3 separate regions of the Homo sapiens genome follow, and all the other regions are linked to region 2. Evidence: promoter capture Hi-C in 16 types of primary human blood cells and fetal thymus (Javierre and others, 2016). All regions are on one chromosome and are shown on one strand. Each heading gives the region's core, a stretch centred on a gene start or on the middle of the fragment in contact. The rest is flanking DNA. Distances are from core to core; before and after follow the strand shown.

Region 1 (4,070 bases), core at 666-3,165, 270 kb before region 2:
AAAAGTTTGTTTTGCATTGATTATTTTTGGAAGAAATAGGTATAAAAATTTAAACTAATTTGGTTTAAAAATTCATATCAGTTATGTTCAACCAATATTCACAATACATGTCAATTTGATTTTATGGTCTATTATGGGGATAAAGAAAGAAAGAAGAAAAAGGGAAGAGGAGATGTAGAGAGTTATAAGGAAAGGGAGAAGAGTGAGCTCCTAAGGTCAAGATTCAACCACTTACGGATCCTTTAAGCTTGGACATTAAGAGGTCACATGAGTACTCCTCTTTCTCCCACAGACAAGGTAGGAGGCTTAGCTCCCTGGATCAACCTGCTAAACCCCAGCAGAGGGAACTTTCCAAGCTGCACAGATCTTTCTTTTATTTTCTCTTTTTCTTTTTCCACTTGTTTTAAAGGCTAATTCACTATTTCATTCAGCAAATGTTTCTGCAGTGTCTCTTATGTTCCAGACATTGGCACTGCAGCAGAGAGTAAGTTAGGCAAAGTTTCTGCCTTCATGGATCTTACATTCTAGTGGGATAAAGGCAATAAAAATGACTTTTTAGGGGAAAAATTAAGCTATATGAAAAATAATTTTGGAAAAAATGGATTTTTATATGATACAATGTCATGTAGTGATCAGAGCTATGAAAAAAATTACATCAGTGAGGAGACTGAAAAAGATGGGAAGGGTGGGGCTCTCTAGTGTTCATTAATTGTTAATTCTCATAAGGTTATTCTGACCAGGAGAGACCTAGCAGCTCACCCATCACTGAATTATACCGCATTGCATTTAAGTGTCCAGGCTTTGAAGTTAAGTGACTGGATTTATCCCAGCTCTATGACTTGCTTTTTTGGAATCTCAGAGGAATTACTTATCCTCTGTGTTTCAGTTTTCTTAACTGTAACAGGAGGATGATCATTGCAACATATCTCAAAGTGTTGTTGCAAAGATGAAATGAAAGAGTACATAGCAAATGCACAATATCATACTGGGCAACATTGATTTGAAAATAAAGATTTGCTGTTGTCATTAGAAATATTACTGAGTTACAGTTTATATATTCTTTTCACCTAAAATAAAATTGTGATAATTTTTCTGTCATTAAATACTTTTTTTTTTTTTTGAGACAGAGTTTCATTCTGTCATCCAGGCTGAGATGCTTTGGCACGATCTTGGCTCACTGCAACGTCCACTTTCCAGGCTCAAGCGATCCTCCCACCTCTCCCAAGCAGCTGGGACTACAGGTGTGCACCACCACACCCGGCTAATTTTTGTATTTTTTTTTTTTTTTTTTTTTGGAGAGACAAAGTCTCACTGTGTTTCCCAGACTGGTCTCAAACTCCTGGGTTCAATCAGTTCAACTGCCTCAGCCTCCCAAAGTGCTGGGATTACAGGCATGAGCCACTGAGCCTGGCCTGTCATTAAATACTTTGGAAAAACTATGGAGTATGTTTTCACATATACCATCTTTCACTTAGACATTTTTGCATGATTGGACATGTTTCCACAATTTTGAAAATGGGTTACACTTTCCAAAGTTCACTTTCTTCCCTTCTCTTCCTACATTTAAACTGAAAAGGAAATACAAACTCATGTTCTGATTTATCTTTTGTTGTACCATGGTTAATATTTTATAATGTGTTGTTTAATTCTAAAGAGACGTATAAATGATTTAAAGAAGTTCATATTCAGAATTAGCATTTCTATATTTAAAAATAGTAAGTCAAAATAGACTAAGATATCTGTTATTGAACCTTTTACTCAAAGGACTTTCTTCCAACTGTACTGTAAGTTCCTTAATCTATAAATGGATTCCTGGTGCCCAGAACAGTGCAGGGGACATGATGAATATTTTAAGGTATTCCATAAATATTTGTTTCATAAAAGTGAAATTTCTCCCCCTGAATTTCTGAGGTCGTTTTATGCCCACCATTTTGGAAGTATTTTTATGAAACGAGGCATTTGGTGTCTAACTACTGATTTTATGTGATCCACTGTTTTTCCATTTAGGCTCTTTGGAGTTCTAAAATTGTAGACAGTTAACATAGTGGTGCTTTAATCTATCCCAGTTTCCAGATTTTGTCATCTTACTAAGTGCACAATTGGTCTTAATTGTATATTGGAAACCAATTTTGACCTCCTGGCCACACTTAACTATTTCTTTTAGTAAACCAGAAGAGAGTTTTATGTGAGGATTTTTCAATTTAAGCAAATTAAGGCACCTATTTTCTATAAACAAATGAAGACATCTATTCTTTTTGTCTTTCTGGTGTGATCGACGATCTATCAGAGTGATTAAGAGAAAATAAAGGATTTGTCAGAACATCAGGTTATTTAGACATCTTAAAAATGTCTTTGTGTTTGGATAAATAATTTATCATTCTTTATGATCTCTAATAAAATTAATTATAGTAGAGTCAAATTCTGGTTATTGGAGTGTAGATTAGTCTTTATGTAGATTAACTGTGAATAATTTTTCATTCCATATTGTCTTCCCCCTGGTACCTAAGACATATTTGGCCATCTTCTTTCTGTCACTTAGTATTTACTTAAAGAATGCAAAGTATATTTAACATCAGATGAGATAAAATTTAAATAAGAGTGCAAATAGACATAAAATGCATGAATTATAAAACCTAATGCACAGAGTCGTGCAGAAAAAAATACAAATACTTTATTACCTTTAGTTTTGGATTTTTTTTTTCATTTCCAGGTCTCTAGACAAGGTTTTGGATTATTTATACAACTGTGTTTCATCAGTTACATAAAACAATTAAAAGTAAATGATATTTTTTAACAGAAAACTCTTCTAATGCCAAAAATTCTTAAATAATTGTCAGAGTTGATGATGAACAGAAATTATTCATATTCTCATTAAGTGCACAAGCTAACATTATTATGGCAAAGTTTTCAATATTAATTAAAGCAGCTTTGAATATTGTTGTTGTTGTCAGTATTTGTTATGTATTACTGAGTTAGGCACAATCAATAAACGCCAACTCCTTTTTAATTTTAATCTGACTTCATGGAAAGGAGACTTATAAAAAATTACCATGTGCTATATCTTCCTCCTAAATGTTTGATCTATTTTAATGACTGGATAAATGGCCACAGGTTAAGTTAGGCCCCTGAGAGCTTCTAGAACTAGTAGGAGAGTGATAGGTTATATAGTGATAGCTGTGTAGGCTATCATGGTTTCATTGAATGAGCTTGGAGTCAGAGTAGGTATCAGCTTATCACTTCATTTGTATGTGATCTTTGGTAAGCCACTTGACCTTACTTTAGACTCCATTTTTTCCCCAGCTCTAAGAGAGTCTAATATTTTCTTTGTTCTTATTGTGAAAATCAAATGAATCATTTATAAAATCACTGCAAACTCTAAAGCATTGCATGTTAGTTATTTTTATTAATACTGTAGAAAAATTCTTGCAGCTAAGACAGAAACTGACCTCATGGCTTTACTCTGTAGGTACAACCAAATTAAGACACAAGGATGGTTATACAGCCCTCCTCTATGTCGTGTCAAATCTCCTAGTTTCTAAAACAGCTCAGTGAATTTCAGTCATAAAGGTCTAGATAAGCTTCATTAGCTCAGGCTTATTGATCTTATTTGATTTTTCTCTTTCTCTGTCCAGCAAATTCATGATTTTCATCTCACTGAGCTAAAACACACACATCTGGAATATTCATAAAAAATATGAACTGAGGCCGGGCACAGTGGCTTATGCCTGTAATCCTAACACTTTGGGAGGCCGAGGTGGGTGGATCACCTGAGGTCAGGAGTTCGAGACCAGCCTGGCCAACAAGGCGAAACCCCATCTCTACTAAAAAAATACAAAATTAGCTGGACACAGTGGCGCATGCCTGTAATCCCAGCTACTTAGGAGGCTGAGGCAGAAGAATCATTTGAACCTGGTAGGCGGAGGTTGCAGTGAGCTGAGATCGTGCCATTGCACTCCAGCCTGGGCAACAAGAGGGAAACTCCGCCTCAAGAAAAAAAAAAAAAAGTATGAACTGAAATGATTTTAGGTTCAGAATGTTTCTGAAAGCAGAGACATATTTTTAAAAAAACA
Region 2 (4,195 bases), core at 45-2,544:
CCTAAAACAATATTGGTACATAGTAATCAGATTTTGTTGAACACATGAATTCTCATTTTGTGCAACATTTTGATAGGACAGATTGGACACAAGCCTAGTATGAAGCAGTGACGACACATGTCCCAACCAGTGACCAACACATCATGTGATAGCATTTCTAAATGAAAATTTAGAATCAGAAATATTAAAAGAACTGTTCTAGCACTTTGGGGAAAAGACACTAAGGAAGGCAGAACAAAAGACAGCATATACTGTATAAATACATGTGTGGCATAAAATATACCATCTATATTCAGCCTAGAACAGTGTTACGCCCTCAATAAATTTTTTGTTGAGTGGATATATGAATAATTAATGAAAAGTCTCCAAATGATTTGACCAAAGGTGATAGGGAAATGATTTAACCTTGACTAACTGGGATGTTTGTATTCTGAAACAGAAATTCTGCTGAGATGGGAAAAAGCAAAGTTGAATCGGAGCAGACCCATGTTAAACAGAACTACCTTTGGCACCATAACTATGAAAGCAGAGAGTGACCTCTCCTTCCGTCTTGTTAGGTATGGGGGAAGCCCCAGCACCTTTACGTCACGTGCTCAGTGAGAGGTGAACACCTCACTCCACTGTCTTAGGTGCTCCACTGGAAGAGTCAAGTAAGTCAGGCGACCACATAAATCTTATTCCCAATTACTCATATAACTAGTGAACATTCAACATGATACTTTGACGTTAGCTTCATGTTTCTTGACCCTTTTATTCTCATTAGACAGCATTAACTGAGTTATTAAACAAAGCGGAACAAATGTTTTTATTAAAATGAATATTGAGACTAATTCCTGTTCCTAAAAACATAGCCAATTTGGGGATAAAATCAAATTCAATTTGCATTATTTTTGCTTTTTAACAAATCCTAAACCAAAATGATGAGGGAAAACAGAAACCTTTGTATTTAATGGCTATAAAATACCTTTCCTGAAAAAGAACAGATTAAAACTCATACTATATTAAATCTATGAAAATAAAAATATTAAAAAAATAAACAAAATAGCTGTATTTAAATATCAGAGTTTTCACAAGAAAATTAACAATTTGCAGAAGTGACGAATAATAATCATTACGAGTAATAATAGTTAATATAATACCACCAACAATAGTAATCCATCTGAAAATTCTTACCAAGCCACCACCAATGACAGCTACTTTTTTCCTTTGAATGACAGATGAGTCCATAACTGCTGAAGTATTTTTCACAATTATTGTTGCTTCTGTCACTGAGTGACACTGATTTCTGTGTCTCCTACACACTGATTTCTCTGAGTTTTTATACTGCCCCAAGCCTAGTGCATTCATGAGCCAGCGGCAATGTTTAGTCAGGGCTAATTTCCCTTGACAGTATTAACCCATTAGTTGGCCAAAGTACAATCAGCTCAGCTCTAAGAAAAAATAAATCCATTACAATAACCAAATTTTTTAAAAAATCCATCCAATTGGAGACACTCTATTTTTTCTATCTTCTGTGTAAGACACAGAAATTTTTAAGCAGTCTTGTGGCTTTTCTTCTTCTTTTTCTACAGCATATATTCTTAGTTTCGTTTTCATTCATGATTAACCATGAATGGAGCCCTTCTCATCTGAAGTCCAAAAACATCTTATACCTCCCTTAGAGAGTAAGATGACATGGTTTCATAATTCATCTGTGGATCATTTTTGTGGTTAAGACCAATCAAAAATTTCATCTAAAGGGTCCTCATGGATTGTTTTTAACAGGCTCTACCAGGGAAAATTCTCTGCAAGGTCTTAATATTCTCCCGATCAACATTTTGAATTGTGTAACTGACCATACTTCCCCTTTTTTTTTTCAGCCCAGATGCTAGAAAATTTAGAATCTAATTTTAGAATCGAAAATTTAGAGTCTAATTACCACTAGGGGAGATGACTGACACAACGCTTCTGTAAACTCATTCCCGACTTCATATTATCTATTCACTTTTTTGTCTTTTTCACTCCGTTTTAAATGTTATACTTTTGTGCATGATTTGCGAATGGCAATTGTTTTCTGGAACATGATGTGGTGTAATGTAAAATAAGAACATAAATGAAGTTGTTTCTTCACTTCCTGTTAAGCACATAAAGAATTCAGAACGTTTTTTTCCCTGGTTAGGAACTAGAGTTAAATGGCATTCAATAGTGACCCCTTGTGGATAAGCATGATTAGGTATTTTATTTATTTTGAATAGGTAATACATTAACATGGCATGAAATTAAAGACACAAAAGAGTACACGGTGAATAGTAATCCTGCTAACCTTGACCCTTGGCCACCTATTCCTCCTGCCCAAAGACAACAACTGTTTTGGTGTGTGGGTTACCGTATTCTTCTACACGTTGATTATGTCTTTCTTGTTCTTCCTCTCTCTCCTTTTCTCTCTCTCTTTCTCTCACTCTCTCATTCCCTTCCTTCCTTTCTTTTTAAACATACATTTAAAAACTTTTTCCACATCATATTTCTCACTTTACAACATATAGCTTGAGAATTCTTCAATATCAATATGTAGAGAATATGTATCAATTCCTCAGTATCAATATGTATCATTGTTAAAAAATCTTTTAAAAATTATGAACTATAACACAAATGAACAGTATAATAAGTTACTGTAAAGCAAGTATCCATGTAACTACCATTTAGGTGCAGAGAGAGAATATTGCCAGAATCCCAGAAGTCTAACGTGCCCCCTGTTAATCACCCCTCCTTCGTAGAGGTAACTGCCATACCAACTTTCTTTGCTTTTATGTATAATTGTACCATGATAGATGCATCCCTAAAATAGTTTAGTGTTGACTTTTTTGAACTTTCCTATAAATGAACTTATACTGTTTATTTTTTTACAACTTGCTTCTTTTTCTCAATATTATATCTCTTAAGATCCATTTGTGTTGTTGCATGTTTTTCCAGTTCATTCATTTTTATCGTCATTTATTATTTGTCCATTGTGCTGTTGATGGACATTTGGGGTGTTTCCAAATTTTTAATATCATGAATAATGGTGTTGCCATAAACACTCTTGTGTATACAATGTCATGTACATATGTATGAGTATCTCTAGGTTTCATATGCTGTTTATGCTTTTTTGTTTGTTTTTTGTTTTTTGGGTTTTTTTGAGATGGAGTCTCACTCTGTCACCCAGGCTGGAGTGCAATGGTGCAATCTCGGCTCACTGCAACCTCTGCCTCCCAGGTTCAACTGATTCTCCTGCCTCAGCCTCCCGAGTAGCTGGGATTACAGGTGCCTGCTACCACGCCTAGCTAATTTTTGTATTTTTTCAGTAGAGATGGGGTTTCACCATGTTGACTAGGCTGGTCTTGAACTCGGCCTCAAGTGGTCCACCCGCCTCAGCCTCCCAAAGTGCTGGAATTACAGATGTGAGTGACTGCGCCCAGCCATGTTTATGCATATTTTTAACCTTTCTGAATAAACGAAAGTTACATTCCAAAGTAGTGCATTAGCTTTTACTTAACACAATGTGTAAAATTTGTCTTCTGCTGTATCCTCACCAATGTATGTATTGCCAAGAATTTTTAATTTTTGCCAGTCTGGTAGATGTGCTTTATATTTCAGTGTTCTTTTAATTTGCAGTCCTTTGATTATCAGTGAAGTTGAGCACATTTTTACCTGTTCATTCACAACTTCTTTTTCTTCTTCTGTATAGGTAGTGTTAATTTTTGGGGGGGGAGGGTGGGAATTTTTTTTTCCTTTTTTGAGTCCCATTGCATATGAACTTTAGTACTTAGATATGTCACAAATAACATTTCATTCACTCTGTGGCTTGCCTTTTTGCTTTCCTAGTGGTGTCTTTTGATGAAAGAATATTCTTCATTTAATACATTCTTTTCCCTTGTGGTTAGAGTTTTTCATGTCATGTTTTATCACTTTTTTTGTATAATCTTGAGGTCATGAGGATATTCTTCCATGTTGACTTCTAAAATAGTTATAATTTACCTTTCATTTTTAGGTCTATGATCAACATGGAGTTAGTTTTTTTGTTTTTGGAATGCTGTGATATAGATGTCAAAATTTTATTTGTTTTCCAAATGAATACCCAATATTCCCTGTACCAATAAATGAAAAGACTTTCCTTTTCCCGCATTGCCTTTGGTGTAGGTCCAGTGTTCATATATGTGTGGGTCTCGTTCCAGGTTTC
Region 3 (4,040 bases), core at 282-2,781, 290 kb before region 2:
CAGGCCTATCCCCACTTACCGCATCACATTACAGGCCCTGCCTTGCTAAGGGTCTTCAGCCGTACTGTGGACTTTGATGATCCAGAAGTGGCTACAGTGAAGATTGAGTGAACTGAATGCAAATTTAGGAGGCCTAAGATGTAGCTCCATTTTTGCCTTTCCCATTCAGCTAGTAATGGTTCTTTTCATTTAAACTCTGATAGAGAGGTAGTGATTCTTTCCTAGGAAGGTATCAGCATACACATAAGAGTAAATTTTATTTTTATTTTTATTTTTATTTATTATTTATTTTGAGACAAAGTCTCTGTTACTCAGGTTGGAATGTAGTGGCATGATCATGGCTCACTGCAGCCTCCATCTCCCAGGCTCAAGTGATCCTCTCATCTCAGCCTCCCAAGTAGCTGACACTATAGGCACACCACCACGCCTGCCTAATTGATTTACTTTTATTTTTTGTAGAGATAGATTCTCACTTTGTTGCCCAGACTGCTCTCGAACTCCTCAGCTCAAGCGATCCTCTTGCCTTGGCCTCCCAAAGTTCTGGGATTACAGGCATGAGCTACCACACCTGGCCCAGAATAAATTTTCTATGTGTGACTATTTTCCTTCCCCCTCTCAATTCTGTGTTTAGATTCTCTTCGAATAAACTTTTCATCTTATTCTATTATGGATTACAGTTAGGTGTGCCTTTGAACTGAATCAGTATTCATGGGAGAAATGATTTTCTCCCCAGGCAGAGTGCTATGTGGGTTTGTTTCTGTTTTTCAAAACACATCTGAAGCTGTTCCTACCTTATGACTTAGAGTCTCAGAATTCTAATTGGTGATGCAAAAAGAATATTATCAGTTGCCCAACCTGTTTTTAATTTTCTCTTTGCTATTGCAAGAGTGGAAGAAATGTGAGAAGAATGAATATGGGCAAAAAATTGACAGTTGCTGGGATGTGAGGTTTGTTTTTTTCTCTCTTTCTGGTTAGGCTAGTTGTGTTCACTTGGCAAAGGGCAGCATAGAATGGAGAAGAAGGATGGGGAAAATGTTAGAATATATTTTGTATATAACATTTGCAAGGTAAGAACAAAGTCGTGTGAATGCCTATGTGCAAAGAAGGTGAAAGATACAAATGCAGATATGTATGTATATATTTATATTTATTTAGACACATAAATATACATTAAACAAATATTTATACATATATTGCTAAGCATTTCTACATGCACTATTTAATCTGATCTTCATTGAAAACCCTAAGATGCAGGTATTAGTATAATTTTCATATTGTAGGTGAGTCAACTTGTGCACAGAGAACTTAAATAACTTTCCAAAAACCAGGTATGGTCAGAGCCAGAATTTATTTATTTTTTTTTTTTTGAGACAGAGTCTCGAAAAGGCTGGAGTGCAGTGGCATGATCTTGGCTCACTGCAACCTCTGCCTCCCGGGTTCAAGCAATTCTCCTGCCTCAGCCTCCTGAATAGTTGGGACTACAGGTGTGCGCCACCATACCTGTCTAATTTTTGTATCTTTTAGTAGAGACGGGGTTTCACCATATTGGCTGGGCTGGTCTCAAACTCCTGACCATGTGACCCGCCTGCCTCAGCCTCCCAAAGTGCTGGGATTACAGGCATGACCCACTGCACCCGGCCCGGAGCCAGAATTGTAATCTGGAGAGGCTAATTCTAGACCTTGTGTTCTTTACCACAAAGAAAGTCTGATTTAGCTCTGTGGATGGTGAGGATTGAGAGGTCAGGGAATTTCCTTGAGGATTCAGCACCACTTGAAGTAAGTGTGGGTGGCTAGTATGGTCTTCAGATGAGAGTAGATCCACTTGGTCAGTCCCCTCTAGAAAAACCTATGGAAGAACCAGAGACAGTCCTGGAAACTCAGATCTAAAACAAATTCTGGTTCTCACTTGAATTGGCCTGGCCATTTGAACAGAAGAGAGAGTCTATCAATTGGACTGTTTTGTGGACACCATAAAATCGTCACATGGCACTGGTAAGTATGAAGCATGTATTTTTTCTATTGGTCTGATTTCTGATCCAGTTTTACAAATAACCACTGGCAGTATTCCTTACCATTCTGCTCTTCACAAGAACATAAAGTAGTAAAATTAATAAACCCCTTTATTTTAACTCTTGCTTCAGCATATAATTTTCCCCATATGCGGCCAGCTATCTATAAGATGCGCCTAATATCAAGATCCTTTATTTCACATTGTAAAAATCTTTCGTTTTTGCCTTCTTCCAAATGTGTATCTCTTTTTATCTAGGAATAATTAAGTCAGGATGGCAGAACAATAATATTTACAGGCAGTGAACAGAAATGCAGAAGTGGAATTTACTAGCCAAACACTGCATCTGAGTCATTATGCCACAAATAAATTATGTGCATGCATGAGCAATACATAAACTTATTCGTTCAATTTGTTCTGACATCATAAGACATTTTAAGGAAATGTTAGAGACTTTTAGCTCATTTCTATTCATTGAAAAATTGTATTTAGCCACCTGTGCCTCTGTGCTTTCTTCCAGTCTATGGCCTTTTTTTGTAGAAAAAAAAAATTCTAAAAATAGATATGGCATTCCTTTTAAAATCAAATGCCTTCTTCAAAGAAGTTGCCGTAATAGAAATAGTAAGTAGTACAGATGGTATAGCTGTAAATTAAAGTTTATTCTGACTTAGATACCACATGCAATCATCTATTATTTAATAATAGAAAAATGGGGACTGGGACTGGTTATATAAACATGAATCCTTTTAGTTGATCCCTTTCATCTCTACCTATCTGTATTTCTAAATCTTGCAGACCCTGTATGCGTTGTTTTTGTCTTCCTGTTTTTAATGTCATGTGAATTTCCTATAAAAATTGCAGAATTGTTTTCATTCAGCTTAAGACAAATATTTTTTTCTTTCTGAATCCTATACAGATGATGCCTGTAACTGGCAAGAAGAGGCATATATTTGTTACAGGTGGAACGTTTCCCATGCCCATGTGGTACTTGTACTGACTTCCATCATCGCACCTCTAACATGTTGTTGCCCATATCTGATTCTATCTTTGTTTCCTTTCTCAGGCAATAAGTACCTGAAGGGCAGAGACCATCTTTTTTGTTTTTTCCTGTGTATTTCTAGTTTTTCATGCAATATTTCTCGAGAAAATTAATGTCCCATCCCATTCCTTACCTAGTTATTTATACATTGAGAAAAAAACTGATGTCTCTAAGAAAAATATAAATGTAAGCAACTCATAAATAGGTAAGTTAACATTTTGGGGCATCCACAGTATATTACTACTGATAGTTAAAGGAGGTATAAAGAAAACACTAGACATGGTCCCTTTCTTTATGGTACTTCTAGACTATGAAAAGAGAGGGCTCAAAAGCACATGTGTACACAATGTACGAGTATCTATTTACCAAAATAAGTACAGTCATCCTGTACACAAATACAAGCCATACAAATGCAGTCTATTTCACGATTAAGTAGGCAATATTTGTATCATGTGTTATTCCTGAGATATTTTGAATCCCAGCTAGATTTTCTACTGCTACCTAGCAAACTTCTAGCCATTTTCCCCCAACTATCCAGCAGTTATATGTTTAGTAGATGAAACATATCTTCAGTGTTAACCTATAACATAATTCAGAAGGTGTATCCACTATAAAATATAATAAATATTTTCAGTGTCAAATAAAAATAATGTATGGGATATCAGATTCTCTCTACCCTACTTACTAAGATAGCTTGGCTAATTGCAATCTGACCTGAATTCAAAGCTTTTCCTTCCTTACCATTGCTCCCAAGAGCTTATAAATTATTCTGCTCTGTTCTTTCTGTGTTTTCTTTTTCAGCTCTTTCCTCAACACACACACACACACACACACACACACACACACACACTTCACTTACTTTCCCACTCCATTCTCTCACCTAACTTTACTGTGCCTTATCCTTTCTTTTCAGCCTTTTGAAGTATCAGATAGTCTGACAAACTAATCCTTCTGTATGTGTTCACAGGACAGGGATGAAGGTTCTATGTAAAG

What was found. The method cuts DNA at HindIII sites, captures the fragments that hold promoters and counts their contacts. A CHiCAGO score of 5 or more calls a contact.
Region 1: a contact is called between a fragment that was not itself captured here and the fragment with the promoter of KMO in region 2, in 1 of 17 cell types (M0 macrophages). The highest score is 6.5, in M0 macrophages.
Region 3: a fragment that was not itself captured here is called in contact with the fragment with the promoter of KMO in region 2 in 4 of 17 cell types (M2 macrophages, monocytes, M1 macrophages and 1 more); the score reaches 9.0 in M2 macrophages.

The regions. Positions count from the first base shown.
Region 1 is chr1:241,796,427-241,800,496 of GRCh38, reverse strand. The region is part of intron 27 of WDR64 (WD repeat domain 64); the gene reads right to left. Among named protein-coding and RNA genes, the nearest start is that of EXO1, 50 kb to the left of the region's middle. The HindIII fragment of the contact is 3,331 bases long and covers 250-3,580 here.
Region 2 is chr1:241,529,477-241,533,671 of GRCh38, reverse strand. KMO (kynurenine 3-monooxygenase) reads right to left here and starts at 1,294. Exons shown (of 15, transcript NM_003679.5): 1 at 1,174-1,294. The coding sequence starts at 1,227. RefSeq lists an enhancer at 1,562-1,711. The HindIII fragment of the contact is 7,761 bases long and covers 1-4,195 here.
Region 3 is chr1:241,819,871-241,823,910 of GRCh38, reverse strand. No RefSeq gene overlaps it. Among named protein-coding and RNA genes, the nearest start is that of EXO1, 26 kb to the left of the region's middle. The HindIII fragment of the contact is 4,489 bases long and covers 1-3,775 here.